Linked DNA regions of Homo sapiens: all the other regions are linked to region 1. Evidence: promoter capture Hi-C in 16 types of primary human blood cells and fetal thymus (Javierre and others, 2016). All regions are on one chromosome and are shown on one strand. The core of a region is centred on a gene start or on the middle of the fragment in contact, and the rest is flanking DNA. Distances in the headings are between cores, read along the strand shown. Region 1 holds the start of TRIM45 (tripartite motif containing 45). Region 2 holds the start of TENT5C-DT (TENT5C divergent transcript). Region 3 overlaps IGSF3 (immunoglobulin superfamily member 3). Region 4 overlaps LINC02868 (long intergenic non-protein coding RNA 2868). Region 5 has its middle 9.8 kb from the start of CD2.

Region 1 (4,349 bases), core at 765-3,264:
TGTTCAGAGTTCCTCCATTAGCATTGTATCAATTTGAAGCTTATATGCCTATTCTGGCACCAGAAGAGTGGCTGCAGAGAAAATAGGGTTAGCTGGTTTGGCTGGCAGCAAGACAGTCGCAGGGACTATCACATAATTACAAGTTAAAAATAGAGTGAAGTCTACAAACTTGTTCTGTTAGTGTAGCCAGAAAACAAATGGAAGTAGAACCCGAAACCTATTTTAGGCTAATCCTAAAACTGTGGTCATTTTATATTCTGGTGTCCTAGGATGGGGTAAGGTAAGAGTACGAAGGGACAAAAGTGATCCATCTGACAAACTATTCACCAAATGCCATAAAACACATAGTCTGCACCCCAATTAACACCTACCAGCCCACCTCACCAAGCTCCAGAGTAACTCTAAGGTACACAAAGCAAAAGCTGAGGTCCGGCCAATCATCATCACCTATTCTAGGAGCACAGCATGGGTTACTGGAATGTAGTCAAAATGATCTGGATTTAATACTCAGTTCTGTTACACACTTACCAACTGTAGGACCTTGGCAAATCACATAATATTGCTGAGCTTGTTTCCCCAATTAATAAATGGGGGCGAAAACAGGGCCTGCTTTTCTGTAAGAGTTGCAAGATCGAAGGAGATCAAGAACAGGATCTATGCTGTTATATTCATTCTCCTGTTTCTCCAGCACCCAGTACAATTATTCACTACACGAATGACTGAAGGAAACTGTAGCTGCACTTTGTAAATTGAAAGGGTTTATTGCTATTGCTATATTAGGCTATATATTAGGTACTATATTAGGCTAACCGGGTTAACTGTTGTACTGGAGTATTTGCTATTGCATTGTTATATTGCTCTTTGACCTTCCACGGTATTTGAGAAGGCTTTCCTTTTCATCTGCTCACCGAGGGATTTGTCTTGACACCTCTTTGTAATCTGCTCTTAAGCTACACCTGATGGAGTGTCCCATCTTTACCTATGAGCCTGGCAGCAGAAGTGGCAGAGGTTGGCTTTGCAGGTCTGACACCTCTTCTCTACTTCCCTGTCGTTGCACAGGTCACACACCAGGCCCTGGCCTTCCCCACGTAGGCTCTCCAGCATCACATCATTCACGGCCAGGTGGTCTATGGTTAAAGCCTTCACTCCACCCATGGGCAGGTCCACCTGAGCATCACATACAGGACAAAGGATGCCGATCTGCGACTGCAGACTTCGTGGCTTGAGTTCCTGGAATATTGACCCCTCAGAGCTTGTGTCAGAGTCTCCCCCTCGGATGTCCACTACTGAGAAGGGCTCCAGCTGCTCCAGACACGTGGTGCAAACTGTATGCAAACAAGGCAAGAGCCTGGGGGCTTTGAAAAGCCCCAAGCACAGGGGGCAGTGAGTCTTGCCTGAGTTCCCAAGTGCAGTCCCACTAGTGAGTTTGCTTACAAAGCCCAGCAGCGGTTTTCTGTTTTCTGACATACTCCTCACGTTTGTGACCAATATTAGAAAGGGCCCTGGGCAGTTCTACGATTTAGTAGCAGGTGATTAAGCCCACCCAAAGAGAAAGTCTCCAGAACTTGAACAGAGACCATGGGGACTCCCTCGCTGACAAATAAAAGGGCAGACGGGAAGACGAGGCGTCCTCGAAGGAATCACCCACAGATCTACTCAGGAGGGCCCCCTCCTTTCCACTGCATCCCACACCAGACACGCCCACGCCCTCCTCTGCCCCGCAAGTCCTCCCCGGATGCGCTTCCAGGTCTAGCTCTCCAGCTAGTCCTGCTGCCAACAAAGTCACCCCTGCACCTCTCGCTCCCTCCACTGCCACCCCCCTCCCGCCGCCCGCCCCACTGCGCGCCACACGCGACAAGCGCCGACCCCACCCGCGCACGATGAGGTAGGGGCCCTCTTGCTCCTTCCCTCTGCGAAAGGCGCGCGCCGGGTGAGGGAATTGCAAGCCGCCGGCGGGCTTCTCGGTGTCCACCGCCTCTCCCGCGCCTCGGCCCGGGACGCCCGCGGGCTCTGGCCCCTCCTCACACCAATCCCAGCCCGGTCTACTCCGGCGAGTCCAATCACCGTCCGAGAGCGGCGGCCCTCGCCGCTCCGGGCCCCGCCGCCCTCCAGAGTGACGCCACTAAGCATCCAATAAGTTTTGGAAATTCCACATCTTCGCCAGTCCACTCACGCGGGGGGCGGGACCTGACAAGGCCGTGGGCGGGGCGGCCGAAGGGCTTAGAGTGCGGCGGGAGGAAAAGGCCAAGGCTCGGAGCGAGCGGCATAGTGTAGTCAGCGTCACCGTTTCACAGGGACTGTCCCTCTCTCTGTGGTGACCAGAGAGGCCTCAGGACCTCTTAAAAAGCCACGCTGATTTGGCGCCGGGACGGCCTTCTTTCTGCCCTCGGACTCGTCCCACGAACGCAGACTGGGTTCTCCCATTGGTGGATGGCACTGTCAGTTGGCTCTGCGCTGGGAGTGGGAGACGTTTTTCGGGCTCCCGAGGTCTCGGCCGCTCGGGGGCGCCAGACGTTTCTCCTCCACGCGGGTTTGAGGCTGCGAGGCTCCCCTCTGTCCTCAGGCGCTTACTGTAGCTCACAGGTCCCTCAGGCCTAGCGTGCTGGGTACAAGCACTCCCGCGGCTCCCCGACTTTGGGTATTTTTCGGGGGTGAGGGCATCTCAGGCTCGCGTTACGGGGACCGGTTCGGGAGACCGTGGAGCCGAGGTGTCGAATGGAGGGCTTACTTCGGCCGGGCCAGGGAGCGCCACCCTCCTTGTCGGGCTCGGGAAGGCTTTGTTTTCCGGTCCGGGGGGAGTGCAGATGACCTAAGGAGTTGAATGTCACCCGGGATTCCACAGTCCTGTGTAACAGAAACGAGCTGAGCGAGTTGGACCCGCTGTTTTTATCAGTCAATCACGGAGGGCTCCTGCCTGGTCACAGTGAGACAATGGACGGTGGCAATGAGGGACAAGCCCTTTGTGGGCTTAAAACTAATTGGGAAGATGAACACGTCCGACCCCTTTAACTTTATAATTACACGGCCACCTTCTCTGGCCTTACCAGGCGTCTCCTGATTCTCCAAAATTCCAAAAATGGAAACAGCTGCTCCTTTCCCCTCCACCTGTTGTTATCTCCAGTTGCGTCAGCTTGTCTACTGGGCCCTCACTGCTTTCTTTGTTCATGACCTTCCCTACTTAATTTGTACCCAGTGGGCGACTGTTTCACTTGATTCCTTCATTATCTGTTTCATGCTATAGGCATAGTGTCTGGAGCCTAAGCTTTTAAAAGTATGGAATCTGAAAAAAAGTTAACCCCAAAATATGAAAAAAAAAAAAAAAACCATTATAAAATATAAAAATGAAATGTTTGGCCATTTCCAAAATATAACACGCCAATGAGTCAAATGCCACCTTTATATAAAATGTGCAAGTAATTTCCAAATGTTAAGCATATCTCCAAAGATTTTTAAATAGTCCTTACCTAGATTTTTTTCAGCCTCTTGTCCTTCTTGCATCTACTCTCAAAATCGGCATTCGCCTCTCCAGTAGGCTGGAGGAAGTCACAAAAACTGTGTGGACTTGGGTTTGCTATATATTCTTGCTTTGAACTTCACCTTTACCCTCCCTGCTGCTTGGCTGTGCTTTACTTCATCTCTTGTTCATACTGTATCACATTTCTTGTGGTAGTAGTTTCAAGCTTCTCTTGTTTCAGAAGTACTTCATAATTTACACGTGCAATATCTCATTTAGCAGTATCTCATTTAACCTTTAACAATATTGTAAGGAAATGGCCTCAAAGAGGTCTTGCCAGGTCTTGGATGGCCAGCCCAAGTTAACATATCTGGAACTTGAACACAACCTTATGATGCCATATCTAAGATTATATTCGGGCTACCTCTACCTTTCCCTTTTTTTTTTTTTCTTTTTTTGAGATTGAGTTTTGCTCTTGTTGCCTAGGCCGGAATGCAATGGCAGGATCTCGGCACACTGCAACCTCCACCTCCAGGGTTCAAGCGATTCTCCTGCCTCAGCCTCCCAGGTAGCTGGAATTACAGGCATGCACCACCACACCTGGCTAATTTTTTGTATTTTTAGTAGAGACTGGATTTCACCATGTTGGGCAGGCTCCTCTCGAACTCCTGACCTCAGGTGATCCACCCGCCTCGGCCTCCCAAAGCGCTGGGATTACAGGCGTGAGCCACCGCGCCTGGCCACCTCTACCTTTCCTTTCTCAGTTTATTAAGCATCAAATCCCTCACACATGCTGCAGCTAATTCCCTTCCATTGATGAGAAAAACAAGGTTGTCTGAAGAACTGCCTCGCCTTTCTACTTAAAAAATCCATGATTCCTCACACCTCCTCTCTT
Region 2 (4,349 bases), core at 1,196-3,695, 480 kb after region 1:
AATTGCCTAATTTTATTCAGGAAGTTGAATAAAATTTCACCCAGGAAAAGGTGGAACTAAACCATGCTGGGTCAAATTTTAGGTTAAGAATTTCTGTCCTGTGTTCTACCTTGAGACTAACTGTACTAATGGTTTCCAAGAGGCACTGAAAGAGTAGAAATGGTTGAAAGGCCAATGTAATAATTTGCATTAACTTTATTGTGGTTGGAAGTTTATGGAAGGATGGTTGAGTTACTTGCCCAAGGCCTTATTACAGATAGTGAAAGTTAAAACAATGAAGTTCTTAGAAGAAAACAAAGAATATTATTTTTATGGGCTTAGGATTATTTTAAACAGGACATACAAAACACTAGTCATAAGAGATAAGATTAATATTTTGAATGTCTTTAAAATTAAGTGCTTCTGTTCATCAAAAGATAACATTAGAATAATTAAAAGTCAACACAGATTGGGAAAAGATATTTGTTATACATATATTGGACAAAGGGCTCATATTCAGAATATGTAAAGAACTCTTATAGGTCATTAGGACAGACAACTCCCTACAAATGAGCGAAAGACTTGAACAGACACTTTATTAAAAGGGTATTGAAATGAACAATAAGCATCTGAAAAATTGCTCAACATCCTTGATCATCAAAAAATGCAATTTTAAATCACAATGAAATACATATCCCCCCCCTTTTTAAATTAAAAAGACTGAAAATACCAATACTGGCAAAGATGTGAAACAACCGGAAATCTCATATCACTGGTTGGAACCTAAATTGTTATACGAATTTAAAAACTGGCAGTGTATTTAAAGTTTAATATGTGAACACTCTATGAACCAGGAATCCAATCCTAGGTATATATATATATCCAACATAAATGAATGCTATGTCCACCAAAAGACATGTGTAAGAATGTCTGCAGCAGCTTCATCAAAGGCAGAAACATGAAGCAACTCAAATGTCCACCAACAGTAGGATGAGTACACAAATCGTTGAATATTTATATAATGAAGTAATACACAGTAGTGAAAAAGAATGGACCATTGTTACACACAACAATATGGATGAATCTCATAGACGCACTGTTGGGCAAGAGAAGCCAGACATAAAATTGTACGTGTTATGTATTTCATCCATAGCAAGTTCAAATATTGGTAAAACTAATCTATGGTGATAGAGGTTAAAATAGTGGTAATCCTTGTCGGATACTGAATGGGAAGGGGCATGAATGAGCTGGAAAGGTTCCACATCTTGATATGGATGGCAGTTACATGGGTATGCATATGTAAAAAATTATCATTCTGGACACTTTTGATTTGTGCGCTTTACTGAATGTTATACCTCAAAAACAAAAAGTAAAACAAAAAATCAGATCATATGTCTTGATTTCGCGTCTAACAATAGGATCACTGGCTTTCCCTATAAACACTCATATTGATGTCCTATCGCATTAAAGTTCCTGGATACTCACTCTCCTCTCCCTCGCTGGGAAAGACATATTTGAGAACTCTTCATAGTCTGACAGACAGGAGAACCACACTTATTTCAGGCAGGGTTGGAAGAGTAGGGCGGAGGAGATGTAAATACTGCATCTGGGAAGTAATCTTTTCCCCCAGCACCTAGTAAACGATCAATACAAGTACAATAATGTCTATTGATAAATAACATTGTCCAACATTGGCTACTATCTGATACATACAGCATTTGCCACACACTTTCTAACAGGCACTAGGCAATGCACTAATTGTTTCCCACGTATTTTCTTAATACTTATATAATTCTACAGAGCTGTCCCATTGTTAGTCTTGTCCTACAGATAGGAGACGCAGGTTGTTGGAGGGTTGGTTCAGTTACTTGCCTAAGGCCTTACAGAAAGTTTAAGTGGTGCATGGAGATCTCAACTCAGATTAGTCTGAATTCAGAACCTGGGCTGTAAACCACTCGCTATGTTATGAATGGATGGTGTCCAAGCCCTGCCTGCATGTTATATAACACACTGGACCAAGTGCTGTGGCATTCCGAATGGGGCCGAAGCGGCTGCGGCTGCCGACATTGGCGATGGACTCCCCGAGGCCCTTCGTCCCACTAACTGCACACAGGTGGTCCCCGGGGCCAGAGAGCCGCCGGCGCTCTCTCCCCGAAGACCACGCCTTCGCCTCCAGCCAGTTTGCTTGGGGAATCAGAAAGGTGCCCAGGGCCCAGAAACCATTAAGTTTTTTCCGACTTCAAAAACACACACCGGAGGTAGGCGTGGGCGTTACCCGCCTCACTCCTGGGGGCAGGGAGAACCAACGCGAAAATCCCCAGAGAGGCGGAAGAAAAACCTGCCTGCGAGAGAATAGGATGGAGATGGGAAAAGCCTGGGGAAGAGAGAGTTATGCGGCAGGAATAGCAGAAAAGCGTACTAAGCAAAAAGAAAGGTGTCCCACTAACTCCGAAGTTAAGTGGGTGTCGACGCAGCCCCCTCTATTGCGCTTGCGCAGTGCTGCCTCCCTGAGCACCCCGCCCCTTCCCGCCGCTGAGGATTTACTCGTCTCTTGGCAACCATTCACCCGAAGAGCCAATCAGAGGGCAGCCCTCGCCCCGCCCCTGCCGTCAGGGCCGGGCGGAAGGGTCCCGAGGGGACTGGCTCCGCCACGCCCCGCCCCTGGCTCCCCCGGGAGGGCGGCTCAGGGGCGGGGACGGGGGCGTGGTCCCGCCGTATAAGAACGGAGGGGGCGGCGGCGGGACGGCTCACTCGGTGCCGCTGCCTAGGGGCTGTAGAGGTCGCGCCGCTCCTGCTGGGGCCTGCCCACGCCAAGGACCTGCCTCTGTCGCCTCCTCTTCTATTGCCCAGGTGAGTCCGCGACCCCCCTCCTCTAAAGGTGCGGCGATGCGGCAGCAGCCCCAGGGAGCCGCGAGCTCACTTAGTGGGGGTCCGCCCCCACTAAGTGGTGCTCAGGTCTTTGCCCAGCCTGGTAGGGGGCAGGCGGACCCGAGGGGAGCTGCGGACAGGTGCCGAGACCCGGTGCTCCTTTCCCCTCCTGCTCCCTCGAGGACCCCCGCCCCTGACACACCCGTCCCAAAGGGCCAGAAGAGACGCTCCGAAAGGGAGCTACAACTTTCCAGAGACCTGGGGCTTGGCAAACTCCAGCGAGTTCCTGCTCCGCGCGTCCTGCAGGCTGCGCGCTGGCCAGGCGCGGGCAGGGCGTCTGAAGAGTGTGTGATCGGCGCCTCCGCTCCTACCTGGATCAGACGGCGCCCCCCGCCACCCATGCCTCCCTTCCTGGCTTGCAGTCCCTCGGGCTCGCCCCGGCGCTCCCGCGGGCGCGCACACCTTCGCCGGCCCGCCGAGTGTGAATTCGAATTCGGCGGTTTCACTAGGCGCAGCTGGAGACGCAGCGGTCCGGGGCTTGGATCTGGTTGGGGAGGGGAGGGGCGCTTCCTAGGCTCATTGCCAAGTCCTGAGTTTTAAGGAGAAGGGCGGAGATCCTTAAATTTAATGCGCTCACATCAGACTGTGGACACCATGAGCAGCAAAGGGATCCAAGCCAGTGACTTGTGCGCTGCGCGTCTCTCAGAAACTTCTTGGGAATGCGGTGTCTGTGAAACCTGCTTCCTCTCCTTTTGAAAATGAAACTTGCTTTACTGCGTAGGTGAAAAGCCACGGCAAGTGGGTCGACTCGGACGGATACCGGTGCGGCTGCCCCGGGAGGTGTCGCAGTTCGGGGACTCCCTTCGCACTGGTCGCGAGGCAGGAGGGAGCAGGGTGGGAGGCGAGTCAGAGGAGGGTGACTTACCTGAAGAATACAGGTTGGTAGCCTGCACACCTGAACTCAACGCTGGCGGGCGAGAAAACCAAGCAGCGCTACCTCCAAGTAAGGGCGCTCCCCTGGAGAAATGAATGCCTGGCGAGCTTCTGGAGAACCCACTATTAGGGCTGGACCCTGCGGGAGGGATAGTGTCAGCTCCCTTCCCCTTCGCCCTTTTTTGTCCATAGGTAGGCTTTTGTAGGGCTCTAACCAGTTCCCTGGCTTAATTAAGTAGGGGCCTGCTTCCTTTTTAACATTTTTGCTTTCTTACGGAGATATAAAGTGCATACAAATGAAGTGCTTAAAATGCACTTATAGTAAGAAAGCTTTTATAAATACTATGTGCATAATTATTTGTATTGTGACAACTTGGTCTTCAGGTTACTTTGTAGGTGGGTTAGGAGACTGAACCAGCCCAGGAAATAAAGTTAGGGTGATTAGATCCTCCCAAAGTACACTTCTGGCTGGCTCAGCTGCCCTCTGCGTGCAGGAAAGAGGGTGACCGTTGTTGGCGACAGCAACCTTTCAACGTGAGTAAATTGGCAAGGAAATGAGCCCAGGAAGT
Region 3 (4,349 bases), core at 1,373-3,872, 460 kb before region 1:
TAAAAGGCCTGCTGAGGCCTTTGCATTATCAGGACTTAATTGGGAGTAGAATGCCCTCCCCATCAAATCCTGACCATTTCTGAACACTCAGCCCATGTCCTCTTCCTGAGTGTCTTCCCCAGCAACAACCACCTACACTGAACTTTACTTCGATCTCTGCAGGAAACTGTAGATAGAGATGCGGTCTCACTATGTTGCCTAGCTGGTCTTGAACTGCTGAGCTCAAGTGATCTCCCTGCTTCTGCCTCCCAAAGTGCTAGGATTACAGCAGTGAGCCACCACACCTGGCCTATGTATGCTTTTCTTTTTTTTTTTTTTTTTTTTTTTGAGACAGAGTCTTGCTCTGTGGCCCAGTCTGCAGTGCAGTGGCGCAATCTCAGCTCATGGCAACCTCCAGGTTCAAGGGATTTTCCTGCCTCAGCCTTCCGAGGTGCTGGGATTACAGGCACACACCATCACGCCCAGCTAATTGGCCAGGCTGGTCTCAAACTCCTGACCTCAGGTGATCCACCCACCTTGGCCTCCCAAAGTGCTGGGATTACAGGCGTAAGCCACCATACCCGGCCACGTATGCATTTTAAAATGTTATGCTCAGATGGGGTCTATAGGCTTCACCAGACTGCCAAAAGGATCCATAACACAAAAAAGGTTAAGAAGCTCTATAATCAGACAAATGTGAATTCAAATTCAGATTCTGCCAAATTCCAGCTCTTTTCCTTTGAACATAATTGTTTTCAAGGGAAAAGTGTCATGAATTTCCTTATCTTGATCAAGGAAGCCAACACAGAAACAACACCTACCTTGTGAAACCATTCACTCATCAAAAAATTAACTGGGCCAGGTGTGGTAGCTCACGCCTGTAATTTCAGCATTTTGGGAGGCCAAGGCAGGCGGATCACGAGGTCAGGAGTTTGAGACCAGTGTGGCCAACATAGTGAAGGCCCATCTCTACTAAAAATACAAAAAAATTAGCCGGGTGTGGTGGTGTGTGCCTGTAATCCCAGCTACTCGGGAGGCTGAGGCAGGAGAATCGCGTGAACCCAGCAGGCGGAGGTTACGGTGAGCCAAGATCGTGCCACTGCACTCCAGCCTGAGCAACAGTGTGAGACTCCATCTCAAAAAAAATAAAATAACTGAACACCTGCTTACTTTGCATGGCACAAGGCTGAGTTCTGGGACTACAGTAATGAACATGACAGATGGTCTTCAAGAATTTTATACAGAAGGTCATGCTATGTAAAGTGTTTAGCACAGTGACTGGCACATAAGCACTCTATAAACACTTTAATACTCACTGATAAAACCACAAAATGTAGTGTTTAATTATATGCTGATTTAGGTTGCTTCCTATGAAACAAACGTTGGTTCATCTAACTCATGCCTTCCTAACAAGCCTTCTTAGAAGCCAGAGGCTCGGCTTCAGAGTCAAACGGAATAGCTTATTAGATGTAAGAACACAGGATTTGGAACCAAATGGTCCTGGCTTCAAAACCCTACTCTGCCACTTTTTAGCTTTGTGACTATGGCAGAGATGGGCAGCTGTCCCCCAAAATCTGTTCTCTCCTTTCCCTACAGTCATAGAATCCCAAGTTTTTCTCAGGACACATGGACCCTCAGGATAAGCATATTTTCCAGCCTTCTTTGCAGCTAAATATGGTCACATGACTAGGTTCTAGCCAATGAGAATGTTAGTGGAAGTGATGTATATAACTTCCAGGAAGTATCCTTACATTAAGAGGTCCTACCCTTCACTAGCCTTTTCTTCCTTCCTGATGGCTGCGGCTAGAAGAGTCATCTTGGACCATGAAGTCATCTTGGGAATAGAGAGCATGCACATGGAGCAAGACAGCAGGAGCTTGGAGCCCTAACACTGTCAGCAATCTATCTTAGGCAAGTGACTCTTTTTTTTTTTTTGAGACAGAGTTTTGCTCATTGCCCAGGCTGGAGTGCAACGGCGCGATCTCGGCTCACTGCAACCTCTGCCTCCTGGGTTCAAGCGATTCTCCTGCCTCAGCCTCCCGAGTAGCTGGGATTACAGGAATGTGCCACCATGCTCGGCTAATTTTTGTATTTTTAGTACAGACGGTGTTTCACCATGTTGGCCAGGCTGGTCTCAAACTCCTGACCTCAAGTGATCCACCCGCCTCAGCCTCCCAAAGTGCTGCGGTTACAAGCATGAGCCACCATGCCCAGCTTAGGCAAGTTACTTAACCTCCCTAAGCTTCAATCTCCCCATCTATAAAAATGTGATAATGCAAGGTATCTATCTTACAGGGTTGTTTTGAAGACTGATTGATATAGTTGGGTCACAGTAAGGGCTAGAGTTAGGAGAGCTGGTATTACTGCCATTATGGAAGTACCAGCAGTCTTGCTGCCATGAAAACCGTAGAAGATGGCAACATCTTAACACAGCCCTGGGTACCTGGAGGTAGCTCAATGATTCTCACAGCTGAAAGGCATCCTAGTAGGCCAAGTCCTCCTGACAAGAATTTCCTTCTCCTGCACCCTTGTCAAATGGTCCCCAGGAAAGGGAAGTGCACTACCTCTGGGACAACTATTAGGACAGTGGTGTTTGTTCATCCATAAATCACAATCCTCATCCCCTTCTTTCAGAACCCTTCTCCTGATTGCTCCAAACCATCTCACTTTTCTCTGCCTCCTCTTTCTCCTCTGCCTTTGATCACTCCAGCCCTGCCTCTGAGGTCACACCCATAGTACTTCAAAGTTTCTTTCAATCCCTTTCAGAAGCCTTTTCTAACTAACTGGGAAGTAAGAGATGGCTTCCTCAGCCTTACCGTATTCAAAGAAGAGACTTCCCAAACTCTACAAATGAACTTCTCTCCCTCTGGAGCAGAACACAAATGATCATTTGCCATCTACAGGTTCTCAGATGTCCCAATCTCCTACATTTTTCATTGCTAACACTTTTAAAGCTATTTAATCTTGTTTGCAACATCAGCACTGGTCTGGGAGGTATATAACTCTTCCTGGCTACACAAAATCAAAATGTGCTGTATGTGTCTAAAGCTTATATTCATCTTTCCTGAGAATTTCCTTCCTGTTCTTACAGACACAAATCCTATGCTCTCTTTCCCACATTGCTGTCATCTTCCCATGTCACTGTCACTCATGCAGGCTGCTCCCAGACAGAGGCACTTTTCCAGTCACCCTTCCCTTCCTACCACTGTACCAGCCTCTATTCTCTCTCTAATCTTCTGCCCCTCTGGCCACATCTATCCTCAAATAGAGACTTTACTACCCTCATGGTTCAACCAGAGCCAGGCTTAAATGGCTTTGTAATTGGAACCAAGGGTTGTGGTGGCAGAGCCATGCACTGCCACCACAACCCTTATTGGGTGAGGCACCTAGGGTTAGGACAGAAGGAAACAACACACAGAGGTCAAGGGGGTAGGTACAAAGACAAAGGGTAGGACAAAGACATAAGCAGGAATCAGTATCCCAACAGACAGAAAAGAGGAATCTGATTCCAATCCCAGACACTGGCAAAGGACAGGTGCAGAAAAGCACAGGTCTGTCATGTTGAGGGAGATGAAAGCGTCTCCGAGATTTACCCTGTATACCCCTCACATACTGTCCAGGGTTTTCTAACTAAAATTGCCATTTCTAGAGGCTGGTACCTGCATCGGTCTCACTTTCAGAGCACTTAGCCTTATCCAACTTTTTTAAACAAAATTTTATTCCAGGCATGTGACCTATATGGGCTTAAAACCTTGGGATTCTTCGCTGTTTTAAATTCATACTACACATTAATTCACATTATGCAGCAAGAATGCTGACACATGAACCAGACCACATCAGAAGACAAGCAGGAAATAAGACCCCAACATGGGTTTTGCTCCCTCCCCAAACGCCTTCTACCTCTCCCAGATTAGTAAAGTAGTAGCCAGGCCTCCTTCCTGCCATACTGAGAGCCATCAGGTGAAGAGAAAGATGAGGTTCCACCAGTGGGGCTCCAAATCAGGCAGAGATCCACATGCATGCCTACAGTTCCAAACCTTCCCACTTCAGCCTGCATCTGGATGTCTGCCACTGTGCCCCTTTAAAGCCACCTTGATGCTCATTTTCCTCCATGGCACCTGTTTACACATGAAGATGAGGGTGGAGGGAAAATGACAGCACCTGCCAGGTGCCAGGGCCCGAGCTCCACTCCACAGAGTGGCCCAGAGAGCGAACAGCAGGGGGACCAGCATGCAGCCTTACATTACTTGAGCAGCCAGAAGAAACAAAAGGCACAAATGTCACATTGCCTTGTTTTCCCATTGATGGTTACTTCTCCTGCCCTGGGCCCCACCCTGCCACTCAGCCCTCTTTCCCGCCTTAGCCACACA
Region 4 (4,349 bases), core at 830-3,329, 420 kb before region 1:
CATGAAGGTGGATGCATGGAAAATCGAAGGCTTGCCTGATCCCCTTCCAGGGAATCCTGGTTCTCTGGGGCAGCCAGAGCTATGACTGGTCTCCAGGACAGGAATGTGCCTCCTCACTGGTGAAAGTGCCTCTCTGTGGCCTCAGGGCCTCTGTGAGGCAGGGCAGAGCTCCTGTCCCTGCATGAGCACACTTGGGGCTTCTGGAGTGGTTGAGACACTTATACTCCCTGCTTCCTGCTTCCTGGAGCAGAATTTAAGGAAGACTACTGGGCTTTTGCCTCAGGAGACCAGACGAAACAAAACCTGCTTTCAGAGGGGCATTCTTCTGACTTTTCCTTCAAGTGGAATTGTGACTGTAGGTTTGGGTTTGAACACCGAATTTCAATTTTGTACACACACACCAAGAGGCCTCAGGGCAAGGGGGTGTTTGAAATGAACACCAGCCCAAGTCCTCTACCTGCCGAGTGTTCGATTAAGCTGCTTAGGTCTGTTTCCACCATCCTGTCTTTCAAATATTTATGTGTCAGATTATAGGCAAGCTTCAAAGGCAAGGAAATGCAAATCTGTTCTATAAATCATGGAATAACACAGCTGCTGTCTTCCTCAGTGTGACAGCTTACGAATGCCAGCATTTCTGTCTGCAGAAGGGGTGGTGGAAGTGGGCTTCTCGAGCGCAGCCAGGCCTGTGTGCGTGCCAGTGTGTGTGTGTGTGTGTGTGTGTGTGTGTGTGTGTGTGTGTGTTGGGGGTAGGGAAGAGAGTAGGGCGTTCTAATAATATTTGCATTTTTGCAAAACAGCAGTTTTTTTGTTTTTTAAATTTCCCAGCAGTTAAGGAGTTAATTTAATTTGCTAATCTTAAAGAACTGTGGAGGGATAAAACCTCACTTGGGATCTGAGGCATCCAGAAAACAAGAGATGAAAATGGCTTTCAGTTTTGGGGAAATATACCTAGAACATAAAGTAAGGGGAGAGAAGTCAACAGCAATAACTTTGGGGATTCCAAAATGAATTTAATTTAGTGTAAATGAATAAAAAGGAAATTGTGCATTGCAAATACTTATGCAAATTAAGTTTTGCCCCCAGGGTCTTAACAATCTGCCAGTGAAGCCCCCAGTGTGCCAAAGATTAGACTTTTGTGGGCTCTTTTCGGCTGTTGCCATGAATACATCGATTTGGTACATTGGTGTTCAGTGACACATTAACATCCACCAAGACCGACAGTGGGGTTTATGGTCCTTGCCCAGCAGCTGGTTTTGGCCTGGTGTCATTCTGAGGAAAAACCTGGGAAAGCTGCAGTCAACAGGGTGCAGGGGCCCAAAGGAAGATGGTGTATAAGACAAAATGAGTGGGGATAAAGTTTGCCATGTATTAGTCAGGATTCTGTTGCAAGTGACTCAAACTCACTTAGGCAACAGGGGGAGTTTTCTGGGTCACTGAAGGGAACATTGAATAACCAAATCATGGGAAAGGAACGAAAGTAATTGGGCTTGGGAACAGTTGGAACAAAAACTGGAACACTTCTAGGACTGTCTTCCATCACCTGTCTTTACTTTTTCTCTCTATTGGCTCCTAACATGGCTGCATATTAGGACTAGTAGATTTTGTGCCAAACGACTTTTCCTATTATAAAGACTGTTTTGCACCTGACAACTTTTGTCTCTGTAGAATCCTAGTTTGAATAATCCCAGAGAAGAAATTTATGATTGGTTGAGCTGGGATCAGGTGTCCATGCCTGGACCAATCAACTGTAGGAAGAGGACAGAGAGTCACATAAAAACATGGCAGCTCTTATGGTAGTCATATTGATGATGGGAGGCTTTCCTAAAAAAAAAAAAAGGAGTGGGGAAGCTTTGGACAGACAGTCCAGTAAGCATCTACTACATTCTAGAGAGCGCTGGAAAAAAGACCAAAGGAGGCAAAGAAAGGGGGCCAGGAAAGATTGTGTGATGAATGAGTTGCATGTTGGAATTCATTGATTGACTCCTTGAAATTCAATATTCCATAGGATTCCTTAATGATGCTAAATGCTCCTGGTTCTTCTAGTTTTCTGATAGCTCTTATTCTGTCTCCTTGATTGTTCTGGATCCTTCTCTTCTCTGCACTGAGAATCTCCTCAAGATTACAGGCCCTTAGTTATGTATCTTGCCTCTAGAGAAGACAAATAGGTTCTTTCCAACTGCATAAACAGTATTCCCTGTCAGGACCCTCCTCTTACCTTCCAGAAGAAATCTACACTTGGATTTCCTTTAGTCACATTTAATGCCTTTCTAAAAAAGTGTGGTTCCTGAACCAGTCACATCAGAATCACCTGGAAGCTTATTGGAAATGCAGAATCTTGGGCCTTGTCACAAAACTACTGAATCAGAATCTGCATTCTAACAAGATGACCAGGTACTTTGTAAATCCATTAATTTGGAAAGCACCACTTTAAGCAATTAGAAATGGAACTCATAATCAACCTGCTCTCAGTGGCGAAATAAATGTTTTTTCACAATTTTCCTACCAGGTCAATGGCAACCCTGTCTAAAAACCCAGATTCACAACAACTCTCAAAATTACTTTTCCAATACTTTCTTGTCTTCATTACCTATGTCCAATCTATCACCAATTTGAACCTATTAATTCCACTGTCCAATTGGTCTGTTTTTCCTAACCATGCCTTCCTCACTTTCTGCAGGCTCTAATAGATGCATTTGCCAGTCAGCCTCCTCATTTAAAAAATGGGTCAAATAATGCTTATAATGCCTCATATACATATTTACATAGAATACAAATTTAATGTGTAATTATCTTCATCCTGGTAGGACTGGTTTTCCACTATGGCTTTGTATACAGTTGTAAGGGATATTGCAAATAACATATTATTAACCATAAAGTGCCAAAATCTATGAACAATTTTGATTTTAAATAAATTAGAAGGGATTAAATATTATTTCTAAAATTATTTTCCCTCATCTGCACTTTAATATGCTATAATGAGTAACAGAGAAAGTGGTGGAATAATACCAGGTAGGCCAGGAATTATAGATAGGAGTGTCTTACACATGAGCATCATGTATCACAGAGGTCAGCAAACTCTTTCTGTGAAAGGCCAGATAGGATTTTAGGCCTTCTGGGCCATATGGTTCCTGTTACAACTACTCAACTCTACCATCATAATGAGGAAGCAGCCAGAGGCAATACTTCTTGATTACTGTAGCTTTAAAGTAAGTCTTGAAATCAAATTAAGTCCTTCAGTTTTGAACTTCTTTTTCAAAATTGTTTTGGCTAACATAGGCTATTTTAATTTCTTACAAATTTTAGGTTCAGTATTACAATTGCTTAAAGAAAAAATGCCTGCTGGGATTTTGATTGGGGTTGCATATAATCTATATATCAATGTGATGAGAATGGACAGCATAACAATATTGAGTTTTCCAATTCACAAACAGTTATGTGTCTCCATTTTTTAAATGTCTTTAATTTCTTTCAGTAGTTTTTTTGTAGTTTTTAGCATAGGTCCTATACATGCTTAGTTAAATTAATTCCAAAATATTATCTATTTCTGATGCTATTGTAAATGATGTTTTACATTTTAATGTCTCACTTATTTGTTGCTTGTATACAGAAATACAATTTATTTTTTATGTTGACTTTGTATTCTACAACCTTACTAAATTCACTTATTAATGTAGTAGCCATTCAGGGTAGACTTGTATTTTCTAGATAGAAAATTATGTACATGGCTGGGCATGGTGGCTCATGCTTGTAATCTTAGCTCTTTGGTAGGCTGAGGTGGGAGGACTGCTTGAGGCCATGAGTTTGAGACCAACCTGGGCAACACAGCAAGACCTCATCTCTATTAACTAAAAGAAGAAAAGAAAAAAGAAAAGAAAAGAAAATTGTGTACTATGTGAATAAAAAAAGTTTAACTTCTGTTTTTCTAATCTGTAAGATTTTTTTTTTTTTTTGGTCTTATTTTACTGGTGGGACACCAATATTAATGTTGAATAGAAGAGAAAAAACAAACATTCTTGCCTGGATCTCAATATCAATGGGAAAATGTTGAGTCTTCCAATATTAATTTACAGTATTTGCTCAGGTTTCTCATTGATTCCTTTATTAGGTTAAGATGGTTGTCTTTTATTCCTAGTTTACTGAGTTTTAAAAATCATAACAAGGCACTGAATTTCATCAGATGATTTTTCTGCATTGTTGTAAATGATCATAGGATTTTTCTTTTTTATTCTATTAATGTGATGAATGACAATGATTGATTTTCAAATGTTAAATAACCTTGCATGCCTGGAATAAACTCCATTCAGTCATGATGTATTATCATTTTAATTGTATTTCTGGATTCTAGTTGC
Region 5 (4,349 bases), core at 493-2,992, 380 kb before region 1:
CCGTGTCCATGAGTGGAACCCGCTGGAGGATCCAGCAGCCGAGCGCCTTCTGCTTGTGCTGCCCTTTAGGGTCAGCGTGTAGTGGAGGCTGCTGCTGCCGTTCAGCACCCAGCAGTGCCTCAGAGCCACCAAAGCTCATCATGGTCTGAGCAGGTGCCTGGGGCCAGGACGGGATGGGAGGCACTCAAATGTCAGTTTTTGGTAAAAATGCAGCTGGGCATGGTGGCTCATGCCTGTAATCCCAGCACTTTGGAAGGCTGAGGCTGGTGGATCATGAGGTCAGTAGTTCAAGACCAGCCTGGCCAATATGGTGAAACCCCCATCTCCACTAAAAATACAAAAATTAGCTGGGTGTGGTGGTGTGCACCTGTAGTCCCAGCCACTCAGGAGGCTGAGGCAGGAGAATCGCTTGAACCCAGGAGAGGGAGGTTGCAGTGAGCTGAGATTGTGCCACTGAACTCCAGCCTGTGCAACAGAGCAAGACTCCATCTCAAAAAAAAAAAAAATGCTAGACACTTTACTCCTTTTTTGTGTTTCTACCCTGAGTCTGTGGGAAGGTGTAATGAGGGTGCAAGTGGAGGCACCAAAGAGAGGAGATGGAAGTTAGGCAGGAAGGTGAGGTGGGACGCAGGGATTACTGCAACTAAGGACAAGTGAGGTGTGCAAGGCAAAAAGTGACAGTGAGGTCTCAGGAAGAAGCAAGCAGTGTCTCCGAGTTTGGAGCACAGGTCCAAAGGGCTAGGGATTAGGTGATGAAAGTGTGGAGGAAGGGGACAGGCACAACCCAGAACCTCTCAGGGCTTAGAGTCCTCCACTGAAATGTGAGGGGATGTAATCCTATTTGGAATTTCTTTCTCTTCCAAAATCTCACAGTTCAAAAAATTCAGGTAAGTGTGAAATACAGAAATGGCAATTTTGACCATAGTCCTGCCAGAAATAACAAGTTCCTCTTCAAAGCTTCCATGGTCTTTCTTAATCAGTAATGAGCACTTGTTTCTCTGCTTAATCTGTAAAGAGCAAATGTCTTATTCTGTAAACAACCCTTCCCACCTAGTTGGTAATGGACAGCCTCTCCCTTCCTGCCTAACTGACCTTATTCAATTTCAAACACTAGCCAATCAGGTCAGCTTAGACTGTGCCCAACTCCAGCCAATGGGGAAAGGACACAGAAACAGGAACTGTTTTAGGGATAAAAATCCCTGCCCTAGCTGACTTGGTGTGCTCTTGTGATTGGAGGGATGCAGGCAGCACCCTTCTGCAAAGTAAATGTGCCTTGCTGAGAAATTTTCTATCTAAGTGCTGGTTTTTCCTTGTGGCACTGAGCACTTGCTTCTAACAACTTGGGGGCTCATCTAGGATCCCATTCTCCTCAGGGGAAGGGTCTCCGATCATCTCTTGTGAGGAGACGCATCCCACTGCCTCATTGCAGCTGCCTCAGGAGTGAGGGATCGAGACCCACCTGGCGTGACGAATAAACCCAGACTCTCAGCAACATGGGAGGAAAAGGCCTACAGATACTGCAGTGACCAGGTAATTCTGTGCATAGACCAAGGTAAGAAAAGCTGCGGGGGTGGTGAAGTACTTCCTTGGTGGTTGGGATGTCCTGGAGGTTGAAAGTGTGTGAATAAGATGCACAATTAAGTGCAAAGCGAGTGTGGAGTCTGGATTTGCTGTTCTGTGGTCACGTCACATGGCTTAAGGTGGCTTTCCTGTCAGGGGTTTATACCGACCCATCAATGCTAAGAAGGACCTAAATTCCCAGGAGAGAAACAGCCAAAGAAGGACAAAGGGAAAGCAAAGGAGTTCAAGAAACTTCCAGTGGTTGGGGGGGAGGGGGTTGCTGAGCCTCCAGAGAAAGAGTGCAAGAAATCTCTAGTAAGAGAGAATGAGCCACACACAGTCAGGAAACTCAGGGAAATGCCTACAACTTCCAGGATGGGAAATACCCTAAGCAGGACAGGGAATATAAAGGACAAGACAGACAATAAAATTCCCTCTGATAGCCCTCTAGGTCTCATGTTAAAATATTGGAGGGATAATGAAAGGACCAAACATAAGAAGAAGCAGAAAATGATAAATATTGTTGATTTATTTGGACCAAATATTGTTGCTTTATTTGGACCAAAAAAACCTATTCTCAAATCTTCAGTTTTCTCACCAAGGTTTGGGTCAAATGAGGATTGGATTTGTCAACTTTTAATAGAATATGTCAATGATAAAAGTCCTGTCTCCCAAGAGGAAATAGACTATGCCCTGTGCTGGGGGCAGGGGCCTGTCCTCTTCTACCCTCTAAAAGCTACAGGAAATAAGCCAGAAACTACCTCCCCTAAAGAAATTGAGACCCCTACCCCAAACAGTCCATTAACACATGGGATCCTTTAGACCACCTTCCTCTGCTAAACACCACCAACTTTGCCTCCTCCTCAAGCAGATGTAACCACCCCAAACCCTTCCCCTGCTCACGTTGTTCCCTCCCCTTATAATCCTGACTCTTGGGGCCATTCCCAGTCTGAATGCCCTGTCCTAGGAAAGCTTCAATGTGAAATAGAACAATGTAAAAAGGATATTCGAAACTTCCCTTTCCCCTCCTCCTCAAAGGAGTCTGCCCCAACCCTTTTTCCCTTAAGAGAAGTACCACTTGGAGGAGGGGAATTGGCTCTGAAAATGCCCCCTTAACTAGTTCAGAGGTCAGAAACCTGAAGAGGGAACTTAAATCACCATTAGATGATCCTTTTGGGGTTGTGGATCAAATTGACCAATTTTTAGGACCACAAGTATATACTTGGGCTAATGTCCATCTTAAGTATTCTCTTTTTTGGGTGGTGGAGGGGAATAAACATGATCCACAGGGCTGCTATGATAGTCTGGGAGCATGCACATCCTCCCAGTCAAAATATCCCTGCAGTAGAACAAAAATTTCCAGCCCAAGACCCCCAATGGGATAATGATAATGCAACCCACCGAAAAAACATGGAAGACCTTAGGGAGATGATAGTTAAAGGGATTTGGGAATCAATGCCTCAAACCCCAAATATTTCACTAGCATTTAATATACAGCAGGGGAAAGATGAAGGGCCCATGGAGTTTTTAAACAGACTAAAGGAACAGATGAGAAAATATGCAGGCTTAGACATAGAGGATCCCCTTGGGCAGGTGATGTTAAAGCTCCATTTTGTCACTAATAGTTGGCCAGGTATCACAAAGAAATTACAAAAAAAATAGAGAACTGGAAAGATCGGCCTATAGAGGAACTTTTGAGGGAGGCCCAAAAAAACATATGTAAGAACGGATGAAGAAAAGCAAAAGCAAAAGGCAAAAATCAGCTCTCCACTCTACAACAAAGTACCCAAGGGGCCAAAACCTGTAAACAACTTAAGCCCCCACTCGCTAGGCATATAAAGGGTATGAAAAAGCAAAGCAAGGGAATTTAAAAATAAGGAGAGAAAGAGAGCAGAACAAATGTTTCAAATGTGGAAGAATAGGTCACTTCGAAATGGAATGTCCTGAATGGGAAAAAGAAAAGGAAGTCATCCCACCTATGGCCTTCGAGGAAGAATAGGGGGGTCAGGGGCTCTGTTTCTTTTATCTCGAGTTCCACCAAGAGCCATTGATAAATTTAGAGGTGGGACCCAAACCCGAGCTCATTGCCTTTTTAATCGACTCAGGGGCAGCTCACTCCTCTCTTTGTTATCCTCCATCTGGTGTACTTTGTTCACAAGAAGAACTCCTGATCTCAGGAGTGAAAGAAGAAGGATTTAAAGCAAAAATCTTAGAAGAAAAAAAAGTCATGGACCGTCACCCCAGGACCAACCCCCACCAGAGTAATGTTAAAGAAAAAAGCCTAATCTGACTGTCCCTTTTTCCTCTTCTCTTTCCCTTAGCTACCCCACATCTCATTATTAATGTAACCAGGTCAAAGTCACCCCAAATCATTACTTTTGATGCTTGTCTTGTTATACCTTGTGGAGACTTGCAAAGTCAAAGGCAGTTCTCTACTTCAGAAAAGTATCTTTGCCATTCTTGGAAATTATCAGATTGGGCAGATTCAATTAACTGGGCAGTTCCCTTAGACTTGGGATATTATAAAGAAAACTCTGTTAACTGGGAATCTTGTACTCCGAAAACAGAGTTTCTCTGCCGTAGCTTGTCCAAAATTCTATGGACTACCAAAAATCATGGTTGGACCTCCCCAACAACTCTCTGTGTGTCCAAAAACCATACATTCCTTTCACCAAATGAAGCCCCCACCAACTGCCAGCAAAACCAATGTAATCCAGTACAAATTTCCATTACTATCACAACTTCCCAAAATTCCTCCCCTTCATTAAGTCATTTCTATGGTATAGGAG

What was found. Contacts are between HindIII fragments. The CHiCAGO score rates a contact against its expected background, and 5 or more counts as called.
Region 2: a contact is called between the fragment with the promoter of TENT5C-DT here and the fragment with the promoter of TRIM45 in region 1, in 6 of 17 cell types (total B cells, monocytes, naive B cells and 3 more). The highest score is 7.8, in total B cells.
Region 3: a contact is called between a fragment that was not itself captured here and the fragment with the promoter of TRIM45 in region 1, in 2 of 17 cell types (fetal thymus and non-activated CD4 T cells). The highest score is 8.7, in fetal thymus.
Region 4: a contact is called between a fragment that was not itself captured here and the fragment with the promoter of TRIM45 in region 1, in 1 of 17 cell types (naive CD4 T cells). The highest score is 5.1, in naive CD4 T cells.
Region 5: a contact is called between a fragment that was not itself captured here and the fragment with the promoter of TRIM45 in region 1, in 3 of 17 cell types (naive CD4 T cells, total B cells and fetal thymus). The highest score is 7.1, in naive CD4 T cells.

The regions. Positions count from the first base shown.
Region 1 is chr1:117,119,735-117,124,083 of GRCh38, forward strand. It overlaps TRIM45 (tripartite motif containing 45), which reads right to left and starts at 2,015. Exons shown (of 6, transcript NM_025188.4): 1 at 980-2,015. The coding sequence starts at 1,467. RefSeq lists a silencer at 1,780-1,969 and an enhancer at 2,280-2,449. The HindIII fragment of the contact is 3,223 bases long and covers 38-3,260 here.
Region 2 is chr1:117,603,325-117,607,673 of GRCh38, forward strand. It overlaps TENT5C-DT (TENT5C divergent transcript), which reads right to left and starts at 2,446. Exons shown (of 3, transcript NR_121626.1): 1 at 2,322-2,446; 2 at 1,465-1,612. TENT5C (terminal nucleotidyltransferase 5C) reads left to right here and starts at 2,724. Exons shown (of 2, transcript NM_017709.4): 1 at 2,724-2,829. RefSeq lists enhancers at 1,538-2,038, 2,039-2,539 and a silencer at 2,450-2,789. The HindIII fragment of the contact is 6,964 bases long and covers 1-4,108 here.
Region 3 is chr1:116,660,176-116,664,524 of GRCh38, forward strand. All of the region lies in intron 2 of IGSF3 (immunoglobulin superfamily member 3), which reads right to left. Among named protein-coding and RNA genes, the nearest start is that of IGSF3, 5.4 kb to the right of the region's middle. The HindIII fragment of the contact is 806 bases long and covers 2,220-3,025 here.
Region 4 is chr1:116,696,667-116,701,015 of GRCh38, forward strand. All of the region lies in intron 2 of LINC02868 (long intergenic non-protein coding RNA 2868), which reads left to right. Among named protein-coding and RNA genes, the nearest start is that of LINC02868, 4.7 kb to the left of the region's middle. The HindIII fragment of the contact is 467 bases long and covers 1,847-2,313 here.
Region 5 is chr1:116,742,468-116,746,816 of GRCh38, forward strand. It overlaps the pseudogene NEFHP1. Among named protein-coding and RNA genes, the nearest start is that of CD2, 9.8 kb to the right of the region's middle. The HindIII fragment of the contact is 1,575 bases long and covers 956-2,530 here.